Regions from separate parts of the Homo sapiens genome. Here region 2 is linked to region 1. The links are contacts of gene promoters, found by promoter capture Hi-C in blood cells and fetal thymus (Javierre and others, 2016). All regions are on one chromosome and are shown on one strand. Each heading gives the region's core, a stretch centred on a gene start or on the middle of the fragment in contact. The rest is flanking DNA. Distances are from core to core; before and after follow the strand shown. Region 1 holds the start of COG1 (component of oligomeric golgi complex 1). Region 2 has its middle 5.1 kb from the start of RPL38.

Region 1 (6,237 bases), core at 1,186-3,685:
GGCATGTGCCACCATGCCCGCTCACTTTTTGGTATTTTTTGTAGAGATGGTGTTTCACCGTGTTGCCCAGGTTGGTTTCAAACTCCTGTGATCAAGCAATCCACCTGCCTTGGCCTCCCAAAGTGCTGGCATGAGCCACAGCGCCTGACCTGTTATTCTAAATTTTTTTACATTTTTTTCTCGTCAAGTTTCCATGGATTTATTTCCTCGACCAGGTTGTAAGCTCCTTCAGAGCAGGAATTGGGGGACTTCTGTTTCTTTGTAATGTGAACGAAGAAGACACTCAAATTTTTGTAGGGTTAACCGAGAATAAACCAGATATAACAACTATGAAAATCAATACGTTTCTAAAATCAGGCATAATTCAAGTTAGCGTTTTAATAAACCCTGAAGCATGACTCAGTTACAGCAAAGGCTGGCCACCTAAGGGGACACGTGTACTAAATGTTAGCTTTGGGAGGGATGAGGTCACTCATTTCAAAAATATGCAAACTTATTTGCAACTTCCTATAGTTTTATTGTGTCAGTCCAGTCTACTGACCAGGATTTCTGTAAAGCTCAGATAGCATGAACAAGTTCCAAATTGGAGTTAGACTGTACTTTTCAATTTTTTCTTCTATGTCCCAGTAAGTTCTCCCAGGCTGTTAAAAACAACTAACTGTTTACCTTTTTCACCCTTCATGCCCTTTCACTTCGTTCATTGCTAGGTCTATATTCTTTAAGGGGCCGTGCGCGGTGGCTCTCGCGCCTGTAATCCCATCACTTTGGGAGGCCAAGGCAGGCAGATCACATGAGGTCAGGGGTTGGAGACCAGCCGGGCCAATATGGTGAAACCCCGTCTCTACTGAAAGTACAAAAATTAGTCGGACATGGTGGCAGGTGCCTGTAATCCCAGCTACGCGGGTGGCTGAGGCAGGAGAATCGCTTGAACCCGGGAGGCGGAGGTTGCAGTGAGCCGAGATCGCGCCACTGCACTCCAGCCTGGGTGACAGAGCGAGATCCTGTCTCAAAAAATAAAGAAATAAAAATTCTTTTTTTTTTTTTTTTTGAGACAGAGTCTCGCTCTGTGGCCCAGGCTGGAGTGCAGTGGCGCGATCTCGGCTCACTGCAAGCTCCGCCTCCCGGGTTCATGCCATTCTCCTGCCTCAGCCTCCCAGGTAGCTGGGACTACAGGCGCCGGCCACCACGCCTGGCTAATTTTGTGTATTTTTAGTAGAGACGGGGTTTCACCGTGTTAGCCAGGATGGTCTGGATCTCCTGACCTCGTGATCCACCCGCCTCGGCCTCCCAAAGTGCTGGGATTACAGGCGTGAGCCACCGCACCCGGCCAATAAAAATTCTTTAGGAACGCAAGCTGCAGCTCCAATATGAGGATGTGTTTGTTTACCTCCCATCCTTCCTCATTGTGTCTAATCAATAGCGTTTGGGGGGAAGAACACGGGATAAGGAGAACCTGAATGAAAAAAGCCTTAGTTCTGAAAATGAAAATGTTCAGCTATTAAAAGGTAAGGGCTTGGCCGGCTGTGGTGGCTCATGACTGTAATCCCAGCACTTTGGGAGACCCTGTCACATACATACATAAAGTTAAGGGCTTGATAGCTGGTACCCTCAACAACTCCCAAAGGGTAGAACAGCTATTTGGGGTTGTGGAAGTTATTCTTGGGGAGATAAGGGGAAGGTTGGGATGAGGAAGAAATGACTTGGAGTGCAGGTGTCAACATAGGGGAGAAACCTGAGGAAAAACAATGTCAGGACATGTTATATAGGTGAGCGTTGAACTGTCAAGACAGAAACTCCTGGCGTTTTCCGCTAAAATTGAAAGGAGCCCAGTGAGGTGTAGGAATCAAGGCCCGGAAGTCGGGGGAAAGCGCCTGAAGAAACTGTTGAATGGCATTTCCAGAACGGATCAGCAGCCGCATATGTGCAAGGAAGGCTGGCACTGTCCTCTGAGGGGGGCCCAAAGGGTGAGGGGCGGATAGGCTCCTGGCTAAGGAAGGTGAGGACTCGCGGGGTCTGGGACTGACAGAGGGGGGCGGGGTTGACCTGCAAGGCCAGGGGCTCCGGGACCCGCCTGCGGGTCGCAGGGTGGGGGCACGGGGACTGACCTGCTGGGCCCGCGGTGGCCGGGGCGCGGCCGAGCCGGCCTGGCGGAGGCGGGCGCAGTACTGGTCGGTGGCCTTCACGGCGTCCACTAGCCCCACGGCGCAGCGGCGCATCTGGCCGATGGTGTCGGCCGCCTCGATCAGGTCGCGGTACCGTTCGCCCACCATCTGCCGCAGCTCCTCCTTCTTGTGCTCGATCTCGGCCCGAACCTGGCGCTCCAGCCCGCGGATCTCCTCCGCTCCATGCGTCTCGAAAAGAGCCGCAGGGTCGCGCAGATCCAGCCGCTTCAGCGCGGGTGAGGTTGCCGCGGTGGCCATGGTGCACTCGTCAGCCCCCGGCGATCTACCTACGCCCTTTTAGTCCCGCCCCCTCCGCCATCTTCGTTGGGGGCGGAAGCGCTTCCGCCCCGCCGGGGGCCATGTTTGTTACCCGAGGGGGCGGGCGCGAGGGGGCGGGCGCGAGGGGGCGGGCGCGAGGGGGCGGGCGCGAGGGGGCGGGCGCGAGGGGGCGGGCGCGAGGGGGCGGGCGCGAGGGGGCGGGGGCGGGCGCGGGCGCGGGGGCGGGCGCGGTCCTGCGCGGGGTTTTCTTAAACGGAGCCGGCTGGGAAGTGAGGTCGCCAGAGAGGTGAGGTCGCCAGGTTGGCTGCGAAACTGTGGCTGAAGTCTTCCCTTTCCCTTAGGAGCAGAGCTTCTCTGTGGAGTTAGGTGTCGGGATCGGGCCCCGCGGACTGACGGCGTTGGCGCAGGCGCAGCCGCCGCTCTCCGCGCGCCTGGCGCCCGCGAGCAGACTCGGGCGCGCTCGCCGCCGCTGGGTCTCGGATCGCACCCCGCGTGCAGTTTTAGGAAGAGGGACATCCGCGCCCCTCGCTGTTCCCCGGGAAGAGCTACCACGCCGCCCCTGAAGGGGTTCTGAGCGCTTGTTTGGCGTCTGCTTTTCCTCTGCTGTTGATTCGTGTTGGAGGTTTTCCATTTCGTTTAAAACCGATGTTTAGCCCCTGAAGACGTTTTCCCTGCGAGAGCCTGACCTTGGTGGCCATGGGGGAGGAGGGCGGCGGGCTGGGCGGGAGAGGCTGGGACGCCCCGGGGAACGCAGCGCCAGACGGGTGGGCGCTCCTCACGTGGCCCAGGAATAGTAGAATCTGGAGATTGTGGCTTGTTTCTGCTAAGTCCCAGACCCTTCTTTTTTTTTTTTTCTGTTTTAATTTCTTTTGGAAGATTTCACCCACACCAGTGTCGACAAAATGATGCAATGTGCGCAGCGGCCATGCTGAGCCCCCAGCAACTCAGGGCCTACCCTGCATCCCTGCTCATTCCCTCTCCCACCCGCCACCTCCGGACGCACAGAATTTCAATCTGCAAATAAATGGTGCATTTATAATATTCCAGTTTAACCCGCAAGAGCCTTGCGGCGTAGGGAGTATCATTCTCACTTTACAGACTCATTTTACAGATGGGGAAACGGGGGCCCGGAGAGGCAAAGGGTTTTTTACTCAGTAAAAGTGCAGTTTTCAGAGCCTGTCCACGAGATTATCTCATTTTCTCGCACATCGGCCATGCCAGGTAGGTAGGAGTAATATTCCTAGTCCATTTATGAGGAAAAAAAAAAAAGAAACAAAAGCTTATTTACCTGCCCAAATTACATAGCTGATAGGTGACCCAGTGAGTATTTGGACGTCGATTTTTAAATTACTGGCTCGCGCTCTTTTCTACGTTTTCACATAATTTCCCACAGAGCACCCTCTGTTGGCAGGCCTGCAGTTTGCAGTCTCTAATCCCATTCTGCAAGGGACACTTACTGGTATTCGGCTGATAAGCATCCGCAGTATCTCCTTTCTGTGATTGGGGAATTCATCGCTATCTAGCAAAATCTTTTTTTCTGGCGCCCTTTATAGCTACGGTGCCAGCCTGCGGCCTGGGACTGGCACAGCAGGCACAAGCGCCTAGGACTTGGGTGAAGAGTTAGTGACATTAAGAAGCAGGCTGTAATCCCAGCACTTTGGGAGCCCAAGGCGTGTGGATCCCTTGAGCCCAGGAGTTCAAGACCAGCCTGGGCAACACGGCCAAACCCCGTCCTTACAAAAAAATACAAAAAAAGGGGCGCGCGCCGGGTGGCTCATGCCTGTAATCCCAGCACTTTGGGAGGCCGAGGCAGGCGGATCACATGAGGTCAGGAGTTCGAGACCAGCCTGGCCAACATGGTGATACCCTGTCTCTACTAAAAATACAAAAATTAGCTGGGCGTGGTGGCGCACATCTATAATCCCAGCTACTCGGGAGGCTGAGGCAGCAGACAGGAAGCTGAGGCAGGAGAATCACTTGAACCTGGGAGACGGAGGTTGCAGTGAGCCGAGATCGAGACACTGCACTCCAGCCTGAGCGACAGAGTGAGGCTCCGTCTCAAAAAAAAAAAGAAAAAGAAAATTAGCCGGGAGTAGTGGTGTGGGCCTGTGGACCTGTAGTCCCAGCCACTTGACAAGAGGCAAGTGAGGCAAGAGGATCACTTGAGCCTCTGGAGGTCGAGACTGCGTCAGTGAGCCATGATTGGGCCACTGCATTCCAGCCTAGACAACAGAACAAGACCCTGTCTCAAAAAAAAAAAAAAAAAAAAATCGCAGGTGACAGGGGCGATTGCATTTTGGTGGTGGCACAGGTATCACCGGCAACATCCACTCCCTAAGGACAGCAAGGGCAGTGAACTTAGCTCCAGCTCCCAGCTGCTAATGCTGGCGGTGGTGCTGGTGGCAGCCGTGGGCACCCACAATGACGTCCTCGACAGAATCACCATGTGGTGTGCTCGTCTAGGTTTTAAATGTTCTGTTTCCCTTCCTTCCTTCCTGCCTGTCCCCTGAACCTGCCTCCCCATCTTTCCCAGAGATTCTATGAACTGTGCAGTGTCTTACTGATCAATTTTGTTTCTTTGAAAATCAAAATCGGTTTCCCTGGTTTGCCCTAGCCCTAACTGATATACACTGCACTAAGGTTCCAGCTCCATGAGAGTTTGGTTGAAGCCTTTCTTACAGCAAGGGGAGAAATGTCAACATATCAGGGATAGTGGGGGGCCCAGGGCTTTGTATGGGATGGTCCTTGCGCTTGTGCACAATACCTGTAAGCTCAGGTAGAGAAAAGACAAACTGGCCAGCTGTCAACACTGCAGTGTGTGTGTGTGTGTGTGTGTGTGTGTGTGTGTGTGTTCTGAGTCAGGTAGAGAAAAGACAAACTGGCCAGCTGTCAACACTGCAGTGTGTGTGTGTGTCTGTGTGTGTTTGTGTGTGTTCTGAGACAGGGTCTCACTGTTGCCCAGGCTGGAGTGCAGGGGTGCAATCACGGCTCACTGAAGCCTCCACCTCTTGGGCTCAAGCAATCCTCCCACCTCTGCCTCCCTAGTAGCTGGGATTAACAGGTGTGCACCACCATGCCCGGCTAATTTTTTAATTTTTGTGTAAAGACAGGGCCTCACTCTGTTGCCCAGGCTGGTCTCAAACTCTTGGGCTAGAGGGATCCTCCCACCTCAGCCTCCCAAAGTGCTCGGGTTACAGGTGTGAGCCACCTCACCTAGTCCAGAGTGTGGTTTGAAATCAGGGTGTTCCCTGCCTTTCCTCTGTATTTCCCTGGCCAAGTTCATCTGACTGGCCTGAAGATGCCACTGTTGTTCCTCTGCCTGCAGAACTGAGCACTGACAGAAGCTGTCACCTGACTGCCTGGTCACTGGAAAAGCTCCTGGCCCTGGAGGAAATGTGTCTTTAACTCTTTCCTCTCCATGGCTCCTTTCCTTGTCCTCTGCCTCCCAGGACAGCACCACCCCCTTCCTCTGCCTTCTGCATATCAGCTGGGACCATCAAAACCACGGATCAGGGGCAAAGACCTCAGCTGCCACAGCCGGGCCAGGCACTGTGCCGGGGACAGCAAGACAGAGATGAGAACCTGGAGCCTTTTTTTCTCAAGGTATTAGGAGGTACCTGAGTGAAAGAGGCACCTTTTCGCCTTATTGCCATAGTTTAGTTCTGGTATAGGGATGAGTTCATGTGTGTTGTGTGATAACCTTTAGCATCAAGCAACCTGCGTGAGTTCACACAGGTGCCTGTCTTCAGATCCCCTGGCTCTAGAAGTCCTTGATCTTTCTACATTGTCACATTAT
Region 2 (6,237 bases), core at 1,216-3,715, 1.0 Mb before region 1:
CACTTTTCCTTGAAGGCAAGGACAGGGCTCAGCATTCTGTCGATAACTCTCGAAGTGCAGTACCCATCTGTACAGTAAGTGCTCAATGCTAACATTGCAGGATGATCCGGCTGGATGCGGCATCTGAGATCACTCACCATATAAAGGGGTGGTGGATGGAGGGAGGAATTCAGGGAGAGCCAGAAGGAGACACTGACGTGCCTGAAGCAGTGCCTGGCATGTAGTAGGTCCAAAAACTATTTGTTGAATGAATGACTGGTGCTTCTTGCCTCACTGCCGGCCCGACAGGACAAGGACGGGGATAGAAGGAGGAGCTGCACCTCCCTTTTGGCAGCGATCCCAGGGAGACAGATGTTCACCCTCTTGAGTTGTATAATTTAAGGGACCATAGACGTGTAGTAGCAAAACACAATGGCAAATTTGTTCAAGTACCAAAGACCTCCAGCTCCCCAAGGGGGACAAATAGCAAAATAAGCTGCAGCTACTAAAAGTGAGGCAAGGTGCCCAGAGGGCACGCTTCCCTGCTCCATGGGAAGATGAGCCCCAAATGTCCTGGAGTGGCCGGGGACTGTCAGAGACCAAGGGGGGCAGAGCCTAGGCCCTGAGTGCCACAGCCTGAGACCTTGAGCAGATGCTGACCTGGACATGAGCCTCCCTGATGACTCCCATATACACATGAAACAAAACTCTCCAGGGCCTAGGGTGGATCCTGCAGGAGAGGAAAGCCCCGGACTCGAGGGCAGGATGGCCCAGGCTGCCTGTTATGGTCGCTCTGGCCATTGGTAGGCTGGAATGTCCAGTGCTGGCAGCTGTGGGATGGTGAGGGCTATTGCTGTTGTCAAGAGGCGGTAGGGAGGGTCTCAAGCAGTGTGTTGCAGCATGGCTGGAGGCAGGAGAGGCTCAGAGGGCATGTCCGGAGCTACAGGACACAATCCAACCCTTTTCCTTCCTTCCCTTCCCTCACTCTGCTGGCTCTGGGCAGAGAGGGCCTCAGAAGTCACCGGGCCTCCCCTCCTCCCTCCAGCAGCCCCACTCTGGCCACCTCTGAAGGCCAAATGGTTTAGAGTTCTCTCTTCAGTTTTCAGGGACACATTGGAAAGAGGACCAGGATGGGTCAAAAAAACCCCAATGCCCCAGCTCGCAGGTGGGCAGAGGGCTGGCACGGCACATGGCTGGGAAGACTTCCCAACCTCCAGGATTTTCCCCCATTCAATCCATTCCGTTCACTTGGTGAACATCGGGCTGGGCTTGGGAATAAGCAGAATGCGGTTCCTGCTCCAAACACTCATGACTGTTGGGATCCCATAATAAGCTGTGGAGGATGCCCAGAGGCTAGGGGTCTAATTCCTCCTGAGGGAGTCCTGGAAGGCTTCGTGGAGGAGGGGACACAGTCTGCTGCCTCCGAGAGGGGTGCGCAGCAGCTTGCCCGGAGAAGGACTTCCAGACAGAAGGAGGGAGGGAGCTGACGTCAGCCCAGGGTCAGGAGAATGCGGGGTGTTTCTGAGAATGAGTGGGAAGTTCAGTGTGGCAGAGGTAAGGAGGGTCTGGGGCAGGGGGTCGGGGAGAAGAGGCTGGAGGGGGAGTTGGGCTGGAGTTCAGGGCCTTCAGGAGTTCCCCTTCCAGCCTCACTTATGCCCGCTGTGGTCATCGTCACCCAAGGGCCCATCCCTGGGGTCCATAGCACCTCCTTCACTGCCCAGCGGTGATCTTCCGAGCCTTAGTTTCCTGGTTTCTGTGTGTGTGTGCGTGCACGTGTGTGTATGTTTTGGGGGTGGGAGTGTGTGTGCTGTCGCCTCTCTCCCGCCTCGCAGGGTTGCAGCGAAGCTTCTATGGGGTGATTCGCAAAGCTCCAACCCGCACCTCTCAGGCAAGGCCCGCCCTGGGTGCTGTGTCCACTGGCGGCCGCACGGGGGCGCTGAGGCCGCGGCTGGAAACGGAATAGCCCCTTCCGCGCGACTCCTGGGAGCTCAGGCGGAGAGAAATGTCCATAAATTATCGGGAATATTTGTATGCGATTTCATACCTGGTGGAGTGCTTTCATATCCACCATCTCATTTAATCTCCAAGAGGCCCCTGCCTTTGGCTGCCGGCAGGGCTGGCCTTTAAACCATCTCGGAAGGGAGTTGTTTATTAAACCTTAAAGGTTGTCAGCAGGCCGGGACTCTGGTCCCTGGCACTGAACTCATTTACCTGGGAAAGGATGGGGAGTCGGGTGGCGGGGTGAGTTGGTGCTTTATTTATTTATTTTTTTGAGACAGAGCCTTGCTCTCTTGCCTAGGCTGGAGTGCAGAGGTGCAATCGCTGCTCGCTGCAGCCTCGACCTCTCGGGCTCAAGTGGTCCTCCTGCCTCAGCCTCCCAAGTAGCTGGGACCACAAGCATGTGGTCTTATATTCTTTCTTTCTTCCTTTCTTCCTTTCTTTCCTTCTTTCTTTCTTTCTTTCTCTCTCTCTCTCTTTCTTTCTTTCCTCTTTTTTTTAGAAATGGGGTCCCCTGTGTTGCCCAGGCTGGACTCTAACTCCTGGCCTCAAACGATCCTCCTGCCTTGGCCTCCCAAAGTACTGGGATTACAGGCTTGCGCCACTGTACCCGGCCCACTGGTGTTTTTTTAGAAACTGAAGATGGTGAGTTTAAAGGGATACTGGTTACTCACTCTCCCCCTGGCCCCCAAAGAGTCTGTGAGCCCCTGAGAGGTAGACAGGTTTAACATTCTCCCTGCTGCTGAGCTAGAAGCCACGAAGAAAGGCCAGGCAGACTGGAACAGGGGTTCTCACGCCCCACATGGTTGACCTTTGTGGATGGGGTCACTTTCACTTTTTGTTTAGGGGCTGAGGCTCTTCTGAGCCTTGTGAGGATCCCAGGCCCCTACTTGGTTAATGCTAGACCCTCACAATTGTGAGAAACGAAAATGTCTCTAGACATTGCCAAATGTCCCCGGGGGAAAGCAGGGCAATGCCACTTGTGGTTGAGAGCCGCTTGACTAGAAGGCCAAAACCACGAGGACATTCTTTTTCATAATGGATATCTCTGTTCTGTGCCTATGGCCAGGTAACTCATGGGCTCAGGCTACTGTCTTATTTGCACCTAGCCTAGGGTTTCAAAGCTTTTCTGTGGATGCTGTAAGGAGGACAGCCCTGGGTGCTGCCTCTGCCCGGGCTCAACGGGTGGCAAGGCGGGGTGCAGTCGGCTCTAGTTACCAGGAGCCTCGTCCCTACTCTGGGAGGCAAGGCAGCTGATGTCAGCCCAGAGCGGGTGGGGACACCTTTTCCAGTGGGAAGCCTCGGGATGGGGTGGGGAGCTGGGGTGGGAGAAGGGAGGAGAGGCATGGGGCACGTCTTTAAGGTGCCTCTAGGTACCTAAGTGGTGAAGATGCACAAATAAGATCCTGTCCCTGTTCCCATCTCAAGGGACACACAGAATAGTAAGGGAGGCAGTGATGAGGTTGGGCCCTAGGTGTAGGAAGTGTTTGGAATTGTGGGACCAGATGGAGGCCATGGGGGTCTGATACAGGCTGGGGAAGGGGTGATACAGGCCAGGAAAGTCCTCCAGGAGTAACATCGATGGTGATTCACAAAGAGGAGTAGAATATTGCTTTGTCCTGAAAACCCAACACCTCCAGAGGAGCCTGCTAGTATGTGCAAACCCTCATAGCAAATAAGTTCCAGGGTGACAAGAATGAAAGAAGCATCAGATTGAGTGGTATCAATCTAGGTGGTCTTCCTGGAGGAGGCAGTATGATAGGGTGGGAGGAAAACTCTTCCTGGAGGCAGGAAGTCTTAGATTCAAATTCAGTGTCTGGCTGGGAGAATTTGAATGAGTCTCCTGAGAGCTCTGAGCCTCAGTTTCTGTTGAGTATTAATTCCTGCTAGGATCCAGGCCACTGCGGCCAGTTGTGTGCAGCCTGCACAACTGTCTGCAGCTGCCCTGCTTATGAGAAACCAGAAGGCACCAAGAATAGAAAAATGCTTAGCCCAGCAGCCGGCTCTGTGGCTGTTAATTGAATGTGATTCCCAGGCAAGAGTTGCCAATGGATTTGGAGGAAAAAACCTGCAACCTGGTGGAGGCGTGGGCTGGAGTGGAAAGCAGCCCTCCTTGCCCAGACCTGTGAGGCTGGGGAGGGCCACTCCGAAAGCCCCGCACCATCTCCTCCATGGGGGGCAGAGTCAGTTTTGACAGATGACACCTCCCCAGCTCCCCTGCTTTTCCCTACTGGCCCCTTTCACTCCAAGAACTGCTTCCTGGGTGTCCAATCTGCAAGCACAGAAAGGACAGATGAGGCCTCATCCACCAACAGTGAGAAAAATAACACTGAGGCAGAGGAGAATGCATTTTCAGCATGAGGGACAAGCACCCCTCCTATAGATCAACATGTGCCAGGGTGAGGGGACATCAGAGTGAGAAAAAAGGGCACAGACCCTTCAAAGAGGGCTGGCCTATCGGCTTGTATATATCTTGCATTATGCGGTGGGAGAGAGGAAATCAATAGAGCTGTCAGCTGCTTCATGCATTCAGCCTCGCAGGCGTCTCCTCCTCGGGATGCTCCAGACAGATGCTTCAAATTAAAAACCAGGGAGGGGGGTGCTGGGGGTGCTGGGAGACAAACACCCTGACAGGCCAGAGGGAAAGGAGGGAAGCCACTGAGGATCTGGGGAAATTAAAGTCCATAAATCACGAGCGTCCCGGGCGTGAATGACACGAGCGTCTTAGCAGTAGTGCTGGACGGGTTGTGGGTCCTTCTGCTAGGCAGAGTCCCCCAGGGGAAGGCTGGTGACCCCGTGGGCGGGCTTCTCTCCCCCAGGCTCCGACCCCCTGCAGGAGGGAGAGGAGGGCGGGGCAGACCTCTGGCCTTGCTGGTGTTAGTGCCGGGATGGAGGGCGTGGGTGTGGGCTGGGCTGGGGCGTGGCATGGGGGCACAGGGTGAAATGGAGGTGATCTCATAACCCGGGTCGTGTGGGTGGAGTGTCCTTTGGGTGGGCGCAGGCGGGTGGGTTGCAGCATCTCCACGGGAGCACAGCGATTTGCTCCCTGGTAACTGCTCCTGGGAATCTCTGGCATCTGACGGCTGAAGCCGCGTCCCTGACCCGCTCCCTGGGCTGCAAGAGTGGACCCCATGGAGAGCCCCGCAGCCTACACTCAGTCAGCCCTGCCTGCCTCTCCTCTGTCCCCCGCTGCTGCCTGTGTGTCTGCTCCTCCTGCTCACCCTGTCTGTGAGCCCGTCCTGCCCGCTGGGCACCTGCTCTTCCCTCTGCCAGAGGTTCCTGCCTTCTGCCCCTCTCATTTTTCAGTGGAGCCCCCAGGTGCTGCTTTGTTCCCTTATTTCTTTTTTCTTTTCTTTTTTTTTTAGCCGGAGTTTCAGTCTCATTGCCCAGGCTGGAGTGCAATGGCATGATCTCGGCTCACTGCAACCTCTGCCTCCCGGGTTCAAGCGATTCTCCTGCCACAGCCTCCTAATTAGCTGGGATTACAGGCATACACCACCACGCCCAGATAATTTTGTATGTTTAATAGAGACGGGGTTTTGCCATGTTGGCCAGGCTGGTGTGGAACTCCTGACCTCAGGTGATCTGCCCACCTCAGCCTCTCAAAGTGCTGGGATCACAGGCATGAGCCAACGCGCCTGACCTCCTACTTTGCTCCCTCCTTCCAGCTGTGGGCCAGCGGCCCTTGTGAGGAGGCCTGAGTGGTCGTGGGTCCCCTCTGTGTCCTGCCTAGGGCTGGCCAGCCTGGCTTGGGGTGTGGGAGAGCTGGTGCAGAGGCTTGGGAGGGAAATGTTCGAGGGGCAGAAGGGCTGTCCCTGTCCCCCCGAGATAACTTTGTGCCACCCTCACCCTGGGCTCATCTGTCCATGGGGGCCCAACAGAGAAGGAAACCAGAGAAGAAACAATCAGGAGAGGAGGGGCTGTCTCCCCCAAATGCTGTTCGCCTCCCACCTGAGGGATCCTTCGAGGTCCTAGCAGGAAGTGGAGGCACAGCCAGACTGTGTGTTTTGAGGGTAATTTTCATAAAAGGTCTGTTTGCAGGCATGGGCAGGTGCAGGACACCAGAGAGGAGAGTGTGGAGCTCCAGCGAGTGTCAGCGGGGACTGTTACTACCACGGAGGAGAGGAGGGGGTCACCAGACCCAAGACAGCGCTGCAGTGAGGAGGGGTCTGCTTGATGGGGCTGGGACTTTCAGCCGAGCAATGCCCTCAGCCCGTGGCCGCCTCTCAGGGAAACGAATGCGCTGAGCTCACGATCTTC

What was found. Contacts are between HindIII fragments. The CHiCAGO score rates a contact against its expected background, and 5 or more counts as called.
Region 2: a fragment that was not itself captured here is called in contact with the fragment with the promoter of COG1 in region 1 in 2 of 17 cell types (activated CD4 T cells and naive CD4 T cells); the score reaches 5.7 in activated CD4 T cells.

Annotation. Positions count from the first base shown.
Region 1 is chr17:73,189,253-73,195,489 of GRCh38, reverse strand. It overlaps COG1 (component of oligomeric golgi complex 1), which reads right to left and starts at 2,435. Exons shown (of 14, transcript NM_018714.3): 1 at 2,106-2,435. The coding sequence starts at 2,420. RefSeq lists a silencer at 1,944-2,153 and enhancers at 2,204-2,483, 3,114-3,163, 2,449-3,208. The HindIII fragment of the contact is 5,644 bases long and covers 1-3,722 here.
Region 2 is chr17:74,195,469-74,201,705 of GRCh38, reverse strand. No RefSeq gene overlaps it. Among named protein-coding and RNA genes, the nearest start is that of RPL38, 5.1 kb to the left of the region's middle. RefSeq lists a silencer at 1,747-1,796 and enhancers at 4,276-4,776, 4,777-5,277. The HindIII fragment of the contact is 1,277 bases long and covers 1,827-3,103 here.